Linked DNA regions of Homo sapiens: regions 1 and 3 are each linked to region 2. The links are contacts of gene promoters, found by promoter capture Hi-C in blood cells and fetal thymus (Javierre and others, 2016). All regions are on one chromosome and are shown on one strand. The core of a region is centred on a gene start or on the middle of the fragment in contact, and the rest is flanking DNA. Distances in the headings are between cores, read along the strand shown. Region 1 overlaps R3HDM1 (R3H domain containing 1). Region 2 holds the start of RAB3GAP1 (RAB3 GTPase activating protein catalytic subunit 1). Region 3 overlaps R3HDM1 (R3H domain containing 1).

The links. Contacts are between HindIII fragments. The CHiCAGO score rates a contact against its expected background, and 5 or more counts as called.
Region 1: a contact is called between a fragment that was not itself captured here and the fragment with the promoter of RAB3GAP1 in region 2, in 1 of 17 cell types (fetal thymus). The highest score is 5.5, in fetal thymus.
Region 3: a contact is called between a fragment that was not itself captured here and the fragment with the promoter of RAB3GAP1 in region 2, in 4 of 17 cell types (naive CD4 T cells, total CD4 T cells, non-activated CD4 T cells and 1 more). The highest score is 7.2, in naive CD4 T cells.

The regions. Positions count from the first base shown.
Region 1 is chr2:135,570,305-135,574,468 of GRCh38, forward strand. The region is part of intron 1 of R3HDM1 (R3H domain containing 1); the gene reads left to right. Among named protein-coding and RNA genes, the nearest start is that of R3HDM1, 41 kb to the left of the region's middle. The HindIII fragment of the contact is 3,744 bases long and covers 427-4,164 here.
Region 2 is chr2:135,049,787-135,053,818 of GRCh38, forward strand. RAB3GAP1 (RAB3 GTPase activating protein catalytic subunit 1) reads left to right here and starts at 2,506. Exons shown (of 24, transcript NM_012233.3): 1 at 2,506-2,539; 2 at 2,644-2,699. The coding sequence starts at 2,522. RefSeq lists an enhancer at 3,079-3,218. The HindIII fragment of the contact is 10,130 bases long and covers 1-4,032 here.
Region 3 is chr2:135,648,077-135,652,097 of GRCh38, forward strand. R3HDM1 (R3H domain containing 1) reads left to right here. Exons shown (of 27, transcript NM_001378107.1): 17 at 1,826-1,927; 18 at 3,654-3,956. Among named protein-coding and RNA genes, the nearest start is that of MIR128-1, 15 kb to the right of the region's middle. The HindIII fragment of the contact is 3,290 bases long and covers 211-3,500 here.

The sequences.
Region 1 (4,164 bases), core at 1,049-3,548, 520 kb after region 2:
GTAAAGTATCTTCCATGTGTAATGATGTGTCTGTATGCTGTAGGAATACATAAGCAAATATTGCCTTCTACTTTGTGGCCCATGTACTTGCAAACAAAAAATCTTTCATTTGATTTCTGTTAGTGATTAGATGACTGTGTTACAGTTACCTTCAGCCTCTCAAGAATCTATTTTGTATAACTTAATTAGCAGCTGAAAAGAGGAGAGAAAACTTGTTTATATACTCAAAGGGAAAGAAGAACTTTTTTGGAAAAACAAATTATGGATTGCATTGTGCATCCCACACCTAATGCTAGAATCAGTTCCCCTTTACAACTGTCTGAGGACCTAGGATAAAAATTAGTTCTCCCAAAGTTGTAGAAATGAGCACAAGAAGATAGAAATTAAGTAATTCACAGACTTCGTTGTAGAGATTATGTGTAATAAAGCTTCTTGCCAGTATTGACAAAGTCCTTGTTGCTCTTACATGCCATCAAATGTACAATTTTATTGTTCCAGGTCCTTTGCTCTTTTATTTAGCTTTGTTGTCTTAATTTTAAAACTATTTTCGTTTTTAAAAAATCATCTAGCCTGAAGTGTCACAAAAGTATTTTCAACGTGTGTGTTGTAGCCTAATGGTGGGAAGACTCATTTAGGCAATGACTTGATCAAAAATTGCATTTTGACCCCTCAGAAAAGTCAATATACTTATTAGCATTTTTTATTTACTTTTCTTGAGGCCAAAAATAACTATACATTGTTTTTTAAAACATGCCTATACTGCCAGAAATTCCTGGAGTTGCGACATATTTTTTTAGTTAATGAGGAATATAAAATGTTTGTTGAAAAATGTTTTTCAAGTATGTCAGATTCAGATAAATTGGGTTTCATCAAATTAAAAAGTTTTATATTTTATAGGATGCCATCAAGAAAGTGAAATATTTTCACAGATGGAAAAAAATATTCACAAACCATGTATCTGATAAAAGATTTACAGGATGTTTACTAGCAAAATTTTATTTTATTATTTTTTTTTAATTATTCATTTATTTATTTTTTAGAGCTGGAGTCTTGCTGTGTTGTCCAGGCTGGAGTGCAGTGGCACAATCTCGGCTCATTGCAACCTCCACCTCCCCGGTTCAAGCAATTCTTCTGCCTCAGCCTCCCGAGTAGCTGGGACTACATGCGCACACCACCACACCCGGCTTATTTTTTGTATTTTAGTAGAGACCAGGTTTCACCACGTTGCCCAGACTGGTCTCGAACTCCTGAGCTCAGGCAGTTCGCCCGCCTCAGCCTCCCAAAGTGCTAGGATTACAGACGTGAGCCACTGCACCCGGCCTAATTTTATTTACTTTTTTAAGACAGGGTCTCACTCTCTTGCCCAGGCCAGAGTGCAGTGGCACAATCACAGCTCACTGCAGCCTCTACCCCTGGGGCTCTAGCGATCCTTTCACCTCAACCCCCAACGGAGCTGGGACTACAGGCACACTCTACCATACTGGCTAATTTTTGTATGTTTTGTAGAGACGGGGTTTCACCATGCTGCCTAGGCTAGTCTCGAACTCCTGGACTCAAGCGATCTACCCGCCTTGGCTTCCCAGAATGCTAGAATTATAGGTGTGAGCCACTACATGTGGCCTGCAGAATTTTATTTTGTTTTATTTTATTTTATTTCGAGACAGTGTCTCACTTCGTCATCCAGGCACCACGTCATCCAGGAGTGCAGTGGTGCCATCTCGGCTCACTGCAACCTCCACCTCCCGGGTTCAAGCAATTCTCCTGCCTTGGCTTCTCCCAGGTGGCTGGGATTACAGGCACACACCACCACGCCCAGCTAATTTTTTTGGTTTTTGTAGAGACAGAGTTTCACCGTGTTAGCCAGGCTGGTCTTAAACTCCTGACCTCAAGTGACCCAACCTTGGCCTCCCAAAGTGATGGGATTACAGGCATGAGCCACTGCACCTGGCCCCAGCCTGCAAAATTTTAAAAAATGATAAAGGACGTGTATACAGAATACATAAGGAGCTCTTATGACTCAATAGTAAAGACACATAACCCAATTTAAAAGGGGCAAATGATCTGAATAGATATTTTTCCAGAGAAGATACACATAAGGCCAATAAGCACATAGAAGGATACTCAACATTTTAGCCATCAAGGAAATGTAAATCAAAACCAAAATTGAAATCAAAACCACAATGAGATACAACTTCATGCCCACTAGGATGACTATAATAAAACAACACACACAAGAATTGGTAAGGATGTGGAGAAATTGGAACCGTCCTACATTGCTCTTGGGAATGTTAAATTGTACACAAATTGCTGGGGAAACAGGGTTGTCATTTTACCCAACAAGTCAACCCAGATATATAGGCAAGAGAAATGAAAACGTGTTCTCACAAAAATTTGCATAATACATGAATGTTCATAGCAGCATATTTATAATAATCAATAGATGGAAACAAGACAAATGTTATCAGCTGACAAATGGATAAACAAAATGTGTATCCATGAAATGGAATATTATTTTCACTGTAAAGGATGAATTGCTGATAAATCCTACAGCTTGGATGACTCTTGATATCACTGTGCTAAGTGAAGGAAATCAGCCACAAAAGACCATATATTGTATGATACCATTTATATAAAATGCCTAGAATAGGTAAATCTATAGAGACAGTAGATTAGTGGTTGTCTCGGGCTGGATGGGGAATGGAGGAATTAGGAGGCAATAGCTAAAGAGGGCAGTTGCTCTATGGGATGATGAAAATATTCTAAAATTGATTGTGATTGTTACATAACTATGAATATACTAAAAAGTATTGAATTATACACTTTAAATGGGCAATTATATGACATGTCGTTTGTATGTCGATAAGCTGTTACCAAAAGAAAATTTTCAAGGAGGACTTCCAAATAGCTAAAGACAGTAGTGGTCATCGATCTACTGCCTCCCAATTTTCCTTCAAATAAATATAGAATAAGAAGGACAAAAATCTATACAGAATTTGAAGACATAGCATAACTTGAAGAGAATTTAAGACTTCAGTATAACTGTAACTAAAAAGAGAGCACTCACCAGATCCTGGCATGTGATCTCTTCATACTCCCATTCAGCTCCTGCCTGCCGCAAGACTTTGTGGCAAGCACAGGCAAAGAAAAATGAACACAAAATGGAGAGGGAATCTTAACGTTATCTAAATGTTCAGCCAGAAGAAGTCCATCCTAAGTCTGAAAATTCTTTTTTTTTTTTTTAAGGTTTCCAAATAGAATAAGAGTAGGGATTATAAGGGAGGGACTTAAAAATACATACAATCTGAAGAGGCAGTCTTCAAAGTGCGTAGCTTATAGGGGAGAAAAAGAAGGTACATAAGAAGAGGAGAAGCACCCTTTGGCAGTTGAGTGGTGAAAAGGTAATAAAGCAAAGGAGGAAATTCAGAATGCAGCAAAACAAAGAGAACCACAAAGTTACAGGATTCATAGCCAACTGTTCCCCCCACAACAAAACAAATAATTGGCAGGACTTTGCTATACTAACAGAAGAGGGCACTGTTAAAATAGGAATCTTGTAAAACATCCCAGTAATATGGTGCTTTAATAAAAAAATTTATAGCAGTAAACACATTTATCTGAAAAAATGAACATAAATGAATTAAATTTCCAGCTCAAAACAAAATTTAGGAAAACAAAGTAAACCTAAAGAGCATACCCAGAAGGAAATAATAAGGATAAAAGCAGAAATTAATGAGGTAGGGAATAGAAAAACAAGACCTAACAAATCTGTATTCTGAAAATTTAAAATTATAAAATAGACAAACGGTTAGCTAACTTAATCATGTAAAGGAAAGGAGTAAAACATAGATATGCAAAATAAGATAAAGCGGTAAATAACCACTAAAAATAATTTTTAAAAAATTTTAAAATCACAAGAGACTACTTAGCAGACCTCACTGCAGTTATTTGAAAACCTAGATGAAATGAGTAATTTTCTAGGGAAATGCATATTACCAACATGGAGTTAGAGAAGTTGAAGAGACTAATTTCCATAAAAGAAATAATTCTTCTAAACTATCCCACCAAAAGGCATTAGACCTGAATGGTTTCACAGAGCAATTCTATCAGACCTTCAAAGACCAGATAGTTCCACTGCTGCATAAATTGTTCCAGAGCATTGGAATG
Region 2 (4,032 bases), core at 1,256-3,755:
CTGGGTTGAGGGTGGGGGATGTATGTTTGCCTAGGGCTGCTTGAACAAAATGCCACAGACTGGAAGGCTTAAACAACAAAAATTTATTTGCTCACAGGGCTGGGCGCCGTGGTTCACACCTGTAATCCCAGCACTCTGGGAGGCCGAGGAGGGTTGATCACCTGAGGTCAGGAGTTTGAGACCAGTCTGGCCAATAAGGTGAAATGCTGTCTCTACTAAAAATACAAAAATTAGCTGGATGTGGTGGCACATGCCTGTAATCCCAGCTACTCAGAAGGCTGAGGCTGGAAAATTGCTTGAATCTGGCAGGTGAACGTTGCAGTGAGCCAAGATCTCACCACTGCATTCCAGCCTGGGTGACAGAGCAAGACTCCATCTCAAAAAAATATTTTTTTATTTGCTCACAGCTCTGAAGACTAGAAGCCCACGACCAAGGTATCAGCAGGTTGGGTTTCTCCTGAGGCCTCTCTCCTTGGTTTGCAGGTGGCCACCTACTCTCTGTGTCCCCACATGGCCTTTCCTCTGTGTGTGCACATCCCTGGTGTCCTAATCTCTTCTCATAAGGACACTAGTCAGATTGGATTAGGGCCCACTCTAGCGGCCTAATTTTAACTTAATCACCTCTTTAAACACCCTGTCCATAAATACAGTCACATTTTGAGGTACTAGGAGTTAGGGCTTCAACATATGAATTTTGAGTGAGAATCCAATCGATTACCACCAAACTGGTTGCAAATACAAATAAGCTCCTAACAGGGGGCAGAGAAAGTCTTCACAGAAGAGCAAATATCCAAGCTGAAACTTGAAGGACAAATTTTACCAGGTAAACTATAGACACAAGGACATTGCAGATTCTAAACGACAGCATGTCCAGAGGAAAGAGAAAGCACAGGATGTCGAAAACATTGTAGGTGCATGTTAAAAGAGGCTGTCTATTAAAAGAGAGTGGCAGACACAAAAGATGTGCTGCTCAGACCTCCCTTAAAGAAAGACTCACTGCCCAGCTGTAAGGCGTGTGGTTAGATGAACAGCCTACGGCTGTTGGGTTTATCAGGTTTGTCTAACTGTTGAGCCAAGGACCTGCTATTCTTGGAGTGCTTCCTCCAGCCAAAAACTGAGCAAACAGTGATAGCCAAGGCCACTGTTTTCTTGGGGAGATCCTGGCCAATGATTGACGGAGCAAGGCAGTAGTACAAGGGGCTACGCATTTCCTGATGCATAATTTTTGCCCTAGCACTTCCAGTTGGACTTCAGAGACTTCGCCAGCTTGGAATTGTAGTGTCTGCTTTTTTAGAGCACCAGTCTGAAAAAAAAATAGTGAAAAAGCAAGCTGCAGAGTGGGAGAAGGTATTTGCTACATATATAAACAATATAAAGCTCAGATGCAGAATATATATAAATAACTTGAAGGTGTTAAAATAAAGACAAGGCCAGGCACAGTGGCTCACACCTGTAATCCCAGCACTTTGGGAGGCCGAGGGGGGCGGATCACAAGGTCAGGAGATCGGGACCATCCTGGCCAACATGGTGAAACCCCATCTCTACCAAAAATACAAAAATTAGCTGGGTGTTGTGGCGCATGCCTGTAATCCCAGCTACTCGGGAGGCTGAGGCATGAGAATCACTTGAACCCAGGAGGCAGAGATTGCAGTGAGCCGAAATCGCGCCACTGCACTCCAGCCTGGCGACAGAACCGAGGTGGGCAGATCATGAGGTCAGGAGATCGAGACCATCCTGGCTAACACGATGAAACCTCATCTCTACTAAAAATACAAAAAATTAGCCGGGCGTGGTGGCGAGCGCCTGTGGTCCCGGCTACTCGGGAGGCTGAGGCAGGAGAATGGCGTGAACCCGGGAGGCGGAGCTTGCAGTGAGCCAAGATCGTGCCACTGCACTCCAGCCTGGGCGACAGAGCAAGACTCCGTCTCAAAAAAAAAAAAAAAAAAAAAAAAAAAAAAAAAAAAATGAAGCGTTTGTTGAACACCATGTTGCTCTTCCCAGAAACCAGGTAACTAGTATGATTTTATTTCAGGACAATCAACTGAGCAACTTCTTGCAGGGTCAGGGGCAGAGGGTAGAAGTGGTATTACAGCACCTAGTTTATTGCCTTACAATCAATAAATAGAGGGTGAATGAAAAGAAACCCAATAGTTAAAGTGTAAGCTAATTGGTACTAACTACAAATATGGGTTGAATGAAAACAAACCCAACATGCTTTAGGTTTTTTAATACAATCTTATCCACATGAGTTTAGGGTCTTGTCCTATCACCTTGGCTTCTGTTCCCTTTCTGTATTCATCACAGGAAATTTTCAAGTTTTATGAAACCAGCTAGAGCGGAGTTTTATTAACCAGCTGAGGGCGGACTAAAGACTTAACAGACCTGGGCGAAGAAGCAGCACTCCTACTTACTAGGGCAAGACTCATGAACAGGGGGCGGGGGCTCCGGGGGCGGGGACGCGCCCCGTTCTCTTTCGCTCTTCTTCCCGGCAGCCTTAGCGCCAGGCCCGGCGCTCCTCAAGATGGCTGCCGACAGTGAGGTGATTTCTTTGCTCCCTACTTAATCCTTGTCACTATCTAAATTCGTTCCTCATGTCTTCGCCTTGGGGCTTAATTTCTTTTTCTCTCCTTCCCCTTCCCGCAGCCCGAATCCGAGGTATTTGAGATCACGGACTTCACCACTGCCTCGGAATGGGAAAGGTGAGTGAATCGCATTTTTGGTTACCAGCTCCCATGGGCCCTGGCGTCCCCTAGCCGCTTCCCTGACCCCAGACACACCACAAGTGACGCCACTTGTGCGGGAACGGTAATACCGTGGGTCCCGGGTCTCCTCCCCCAGTCTTCTTTGGTCAACCGCAAGCCTCTTCCGCGTCTCGCGTCTGGCAACACCCGGCCCGCCCCCGTCAGCCAATCCCTGAGGCTCAGGCTCTCAGAAAGTTTTGTTTTCTCTCCTGTCAGACCGCTTCCCTTAGACTTTGGTTTTCTGGTTGTTACCCACTCGCAAGAAAAATTTCCGAGGCTGCAACAACCGTTCCGGTTTTCATTACCGTTTAACTCATTATCGTAAGCAGTAAACTTGGTAGGTTGTGCCGCACCTCATCCCGTGTACGTTGGTATACCCTTTTCAGGAGGAAGTCTTTCTTCAGAGTATTGGTAGTTGTCCATCTGTCACACTCCCACCATCTCCATGCTGTCTTTAATTTTTTATTTTTATTTATTTTTGGAGACAGAGTCTCAGTCTGTCCGCCCAGGCCGGAGTGCAGTGGCGAGGTCATAGCTTACTGCGGCCTCGAACTCCTAGGCTCAAGTGAAGCTCCCGCTTTAGCCTCGGGAGGAGCTGGGACCACAGGCACGCGCTATTACGCCCAACTAATTTTTTAAAGATCTCGCTGTGTTGCCCAGGCTAGTCTTGAACTCCTGGGCTCAAGCCTGGGCCGCCCAAAGTGCTGAGATTACAGGCGTGAGCCTCCGCCCATCCTGTCTTTTAGAATAACCTTTTTAAAAAGTCTGCATATGGTTTTGGAATGCTTTGATTTAAGTTGTTACATTAAAGTGGGTACTGTGCCCAGGCTTCCTGTGCCTGTCAAATTCAGATGAACAGCTGTCTGGGTGAAACTGTTCTATTACTGAAATTAGTTGAAAGCCAAGTTTGTGGAGGAGTGATAGCTTAGATCGAGAAGGTTTCTGTTAAGTGTCACAGAAACCCTTCAGTTTCCTGGGTGTTGAAGTCAGTGTTTACGCTGTTACAGCATTTTATAATCTTTCTGGTTGGGAGAGGAAATTTGTGGATGTCGTGTCATTAGGTGGCACAGGAAAATATAAAAGGTCCTTGTTGGAATAATAGTTAGACCTGTGGTACCCTTCATAAAAGTGTCAGTAAGACATAACCACACTGGCAAGACTTCATTGAGTAGGTACTGGGTGTCCAGAGCTATATACAAAGGGAAAAGCAGAAACTTGACCCATATATTTTTAAAAAACAACAAACAGCAAATAGTTAAAATGTAAGCCAGTTGGTACTACCTGTAAAAAT
Region 3 (4,021 bases), core at 606-3,105, 600 kb after region 2:
AACACATCAAGTAGCTTGTTCTTGAGAGTTCTAAAGCTATGGCACCTCATGTAGTATAATATGTACTATCATCTGTTAGGAAGCTCACTTATTTCTAGCCATGAGTTTTGTGAGGAACCAGAGGCTACTTCATAGATCTTTCAGCTTTTACTGAAAGATTTTTTTAATGCTTTAATTATAGATTTTTTTGCTTTCTTTTAAGCTTATCTAAGCTTTTGTTTTTTAGAAACCGTTGTGTTGATTTTGTGGTAAAAGTGCAACTCAAATCATTATTATCTATCTATGATGTCATAGACAAACAATGTCTATCTTAGTTGACATAGAAGTTCTCTATTTAAATTATTGCCTGAACAATCTTAATTCCATTAGTTTATCTAACATTTTTAAAGTATTGTCTCTGAAGACAACATGCAGAGATATTGTTCAGAAGGAGATGCATGAATATACATTTTAACTAAGAGTTTTCATCAAGTGAGATTCCCTGGGTTCCTCATCTACTTGCTTATGTGGCTGTCTACAAGTCACTTAATTTACCTTAGTCTAACTGCCTTCTGTAAAGTGGGTTGCTATAGTCTTTAAGCCAATATGTATATTACCGTTTTTGTAATAAACAGTATAAATATGAGAAAATTAAACAGATGCAATTTTAGTTTGTGGATGACCAGCTGTATTCCCAAGATTGAAAAGTGATTACAACTTTAAAAAAAAAAAAAAAAACACCTGTGTTTGAGTGCCCCTGGGAAACATAAAACCCTTTTTTTTCCTGAAACTCAGGAGTATTTCATTAATGGCCAGAGATTTTAAGTAACTAGTTTCTCAGCTCCTAACATGTACTATCTTAATAGAAATGTGTTAATTACAAAGAAAGTGTTTATCTTCCTTATATAAAAGAGGTGTTTGTGTGTGTGTGCATGTGTCTGTATGTATATATGTGTTTGTTGTTCCTTAGGCTATTATTCTTAATAGTTCCCACCATATATATATATTTGGGTTTTTTTTTTTTTTTTTAGACGGAGTCTCCCTCTGGCGCCCAGGCTGGAGTGCAGTGGCGCGACCTCGGCTCACTGCAAGCTCCGCCTCTTGGATTCACGCCATTCTCCTGTCTCAGCCTCCCGAGTAGCTGGGCTACAGGCGCCCGCCACCATGCCCGGCTAATTTTTTGTATTTTTTAGTAGAGACGGGGTTTCACCATGTTAGCCAGGATGGTCTCAATCTCCTGACCTCGTGATCCGCCCGCCTCGGCCTCCCAAAGTGCTGGGATATATTTTTTTACCCAGAGCTTTTTTCTTATAAAATTGCTAAAAGTTAGGGGCTTTGGTCCCAAAAGACTGCTTAATTTCACCTTATCAGTAGGGTAATTGGAATAGTTATTGTGTAAGTTATTACTGTCTGATAGTAAGAATGAAGTTTTTCATTTATAATTTAGTGTTATACTGCAAAATAGGGCAACCCTTTCATAAAACCAGGAAATAATGAGAAGTAGTTTTGCTTTTACTGACTTAACCCGGGGGTCTTTGTTAAATAATAGGATTCAAAATGCCTAAGTCACCTGTTCCCGTTAATCTATAATAAAGAAATATTTTATTGCAAAAAATTATTCTCCTAATTATGTAATAAATTCAGGCGTACATGTTTTTGAAAGTTTTACTGTATTAGAGTTGCTTCACTTTGTATTGTTTTTGTTGTTTCCTATGTTGTTATATTTTAAATGACTTTATAAATGTAGTTAAAGCTATTGCCAAAAAAGTGTAAATTTCCGTTTTATGCAATTCTTCTAACGTTTTATTCTGACATTAACATTGTTTGCCAACCTGTTATTCTTTAGCCTGTTCATCCTCTGCAGTCCTCTTCACAGCCTGTTCAGTACTCTACAGCCCCTTACCCATCCCCGTTCCTGCCAGTCTCACCCACCCAGCAATACTCTGTGGTACTATATCTCTATTCACCTCCTGCGTTGTTTCTGTGGGTGGATGTGTGATGAATGCTCAAGAGTGTCATTAATGTAATATGATCTTTTGTGATTTTTTTTGGGTCAGGTTTACATATGTATCTAAACAAAGTATTTCTAATTCATACTAGAAATAATTTATTCCATAAAATATTGGTTATAGTGGCTTATTATGGTGATTGTTTAACCTTTTCCTGCTTTTTCATAACGAAAGAATTTTCAGGTTGATTATTCTAGTCCTAAGATGTTTTAGCAACTTTCTCATTGAGGCCACTGCAGGATCTGTGCTGCCCTGGGATGGCAGCTTTCATCTGGGTTTAGGCATTCTATTTTCTCCCCAACACTGTAGCTCCAGTAGACCCAGTACCAGTTCTTAGGGTGAGTTGTAGCTTACAGCTACAGAGGACTTCTAAGTATATTTTCTAAGAAGATTTCTGGATATTTAATCTGTGACTGTAAAGTAATGATACTTTCTTCTATCCAAAGTATGCCCCAATTTTTATTGGAATAAGAAAATGACTTTTTTCCAAGGTGACTCTGAGAGTGGTATACAATTATGGTACTTCTGTTAACAATATTTGATCATATAACATTGAAATTACAGTTCATAGGTACATTTTTTTTCCTTTTGACACCATTCACTGAATTAGGCTAATAGTGTTAAAGTGTCAAAGTGACAGTTGGGGAAGAGAAAAACCATATATTTTCAATCATTAAATCAGGCATCTCCTTTCAGTCCTTTATCTTCTCCATAGCCGTAATTTACTTTGGAAAATCCAGCAGATCTAGAAACTGCAGACATGTCAACTTTGATATGATGACTCAATTGCCACAATTTTGTAAGTCATTTTTTTCAGTGTTGACCTTTTAACAAAATGTGGTATATTTTATTGCCAGTCTGTGGTTTCTTGGGAACAGGGAGCATTTTAACCCTATATAATCATTTCAGTGATATTTTTCTGGAACAATAAGAGCTGGTCCTTATCCTGTTGAATTAGAGAAATGTTTGTCAGATAGCACATAAATCATAACCCTTGTCTTGGTAGGGCACCATTTAGTAAAAGCATAGGAAACTGTCATTTGAATTACATTTGTCAAATTATCTGACTTCCAGAACAGATTGAAAAACACAAGGGAAGAATGGAATGTATGGCCAAATTATTTTTGAAAGATTAGAGAAAGGACTGTAGTGGATTTTATGTATTTAATTTCTGCAAATAATTTTCGTGGTTAGGGATACAAAAATGCATAGAATTTGCATTTTGCCTTCTAGGAAGAGGGGAGATAGTTTAAAGCAAATACTAATTAGTACCTTGCTCATTGCTTGGTCTTTGAAGTCCTTTCAGAAAATATTAATTGTATAATATGAACTTGGCCAATTTCACTTCTACATTCTAATGTTGCTTTCATCTTCATTTAAATAAATGTCTTCATTTTTTAATGTGAAATGTTGTACCCTACTCTTTTCTGCATGCTGTGCATTCCCACTAGATATATTTTTTAAATAATTTATAATTTATAATATTCAACAATAGAGTTGTCATTTTTTTGAAGCTTTACCCTATTACATAATTGCTGTTGTTGATATATATAATTTCCATAATGTGTACTATTGCATCTTATTTAAAAATAGGAAGTATTTTTCTTTGATAAGTTTGGCCTATGTGTAGAAGGCTTACTAATTTTTGACTTCTTCCTTTTTTAGCAGGATAACCTAGGGTCTCAGTTTAGCCACATGAGTCTTGCTCGCCAGCCATCTGCTGATGGTTCTGACCCTCATGCCGCCATGTTCCAGTCCACTGTGGTTCTTCAGTCTCCACAGCAGTCTGGTTATATCATGACAGCAGCCCCTCCACCACATCCTCCTCCACCGCCACCACCACCACCTCCTCCTCCTCCCCTACCACCTGGGCAGCCAGTCCCTACTGCTGGATATCCTGCCTCTGGTCATCCTGTCAGCCAGCCTGTGCTCCAGCAGCAGGGATATATTCAGCAGCCATCACCACAGGTATATTGCTTTTTAACCTTTTCTTTCTTGTGGAAACCTCTCACTTAAGATCAGTTTTAACTTCA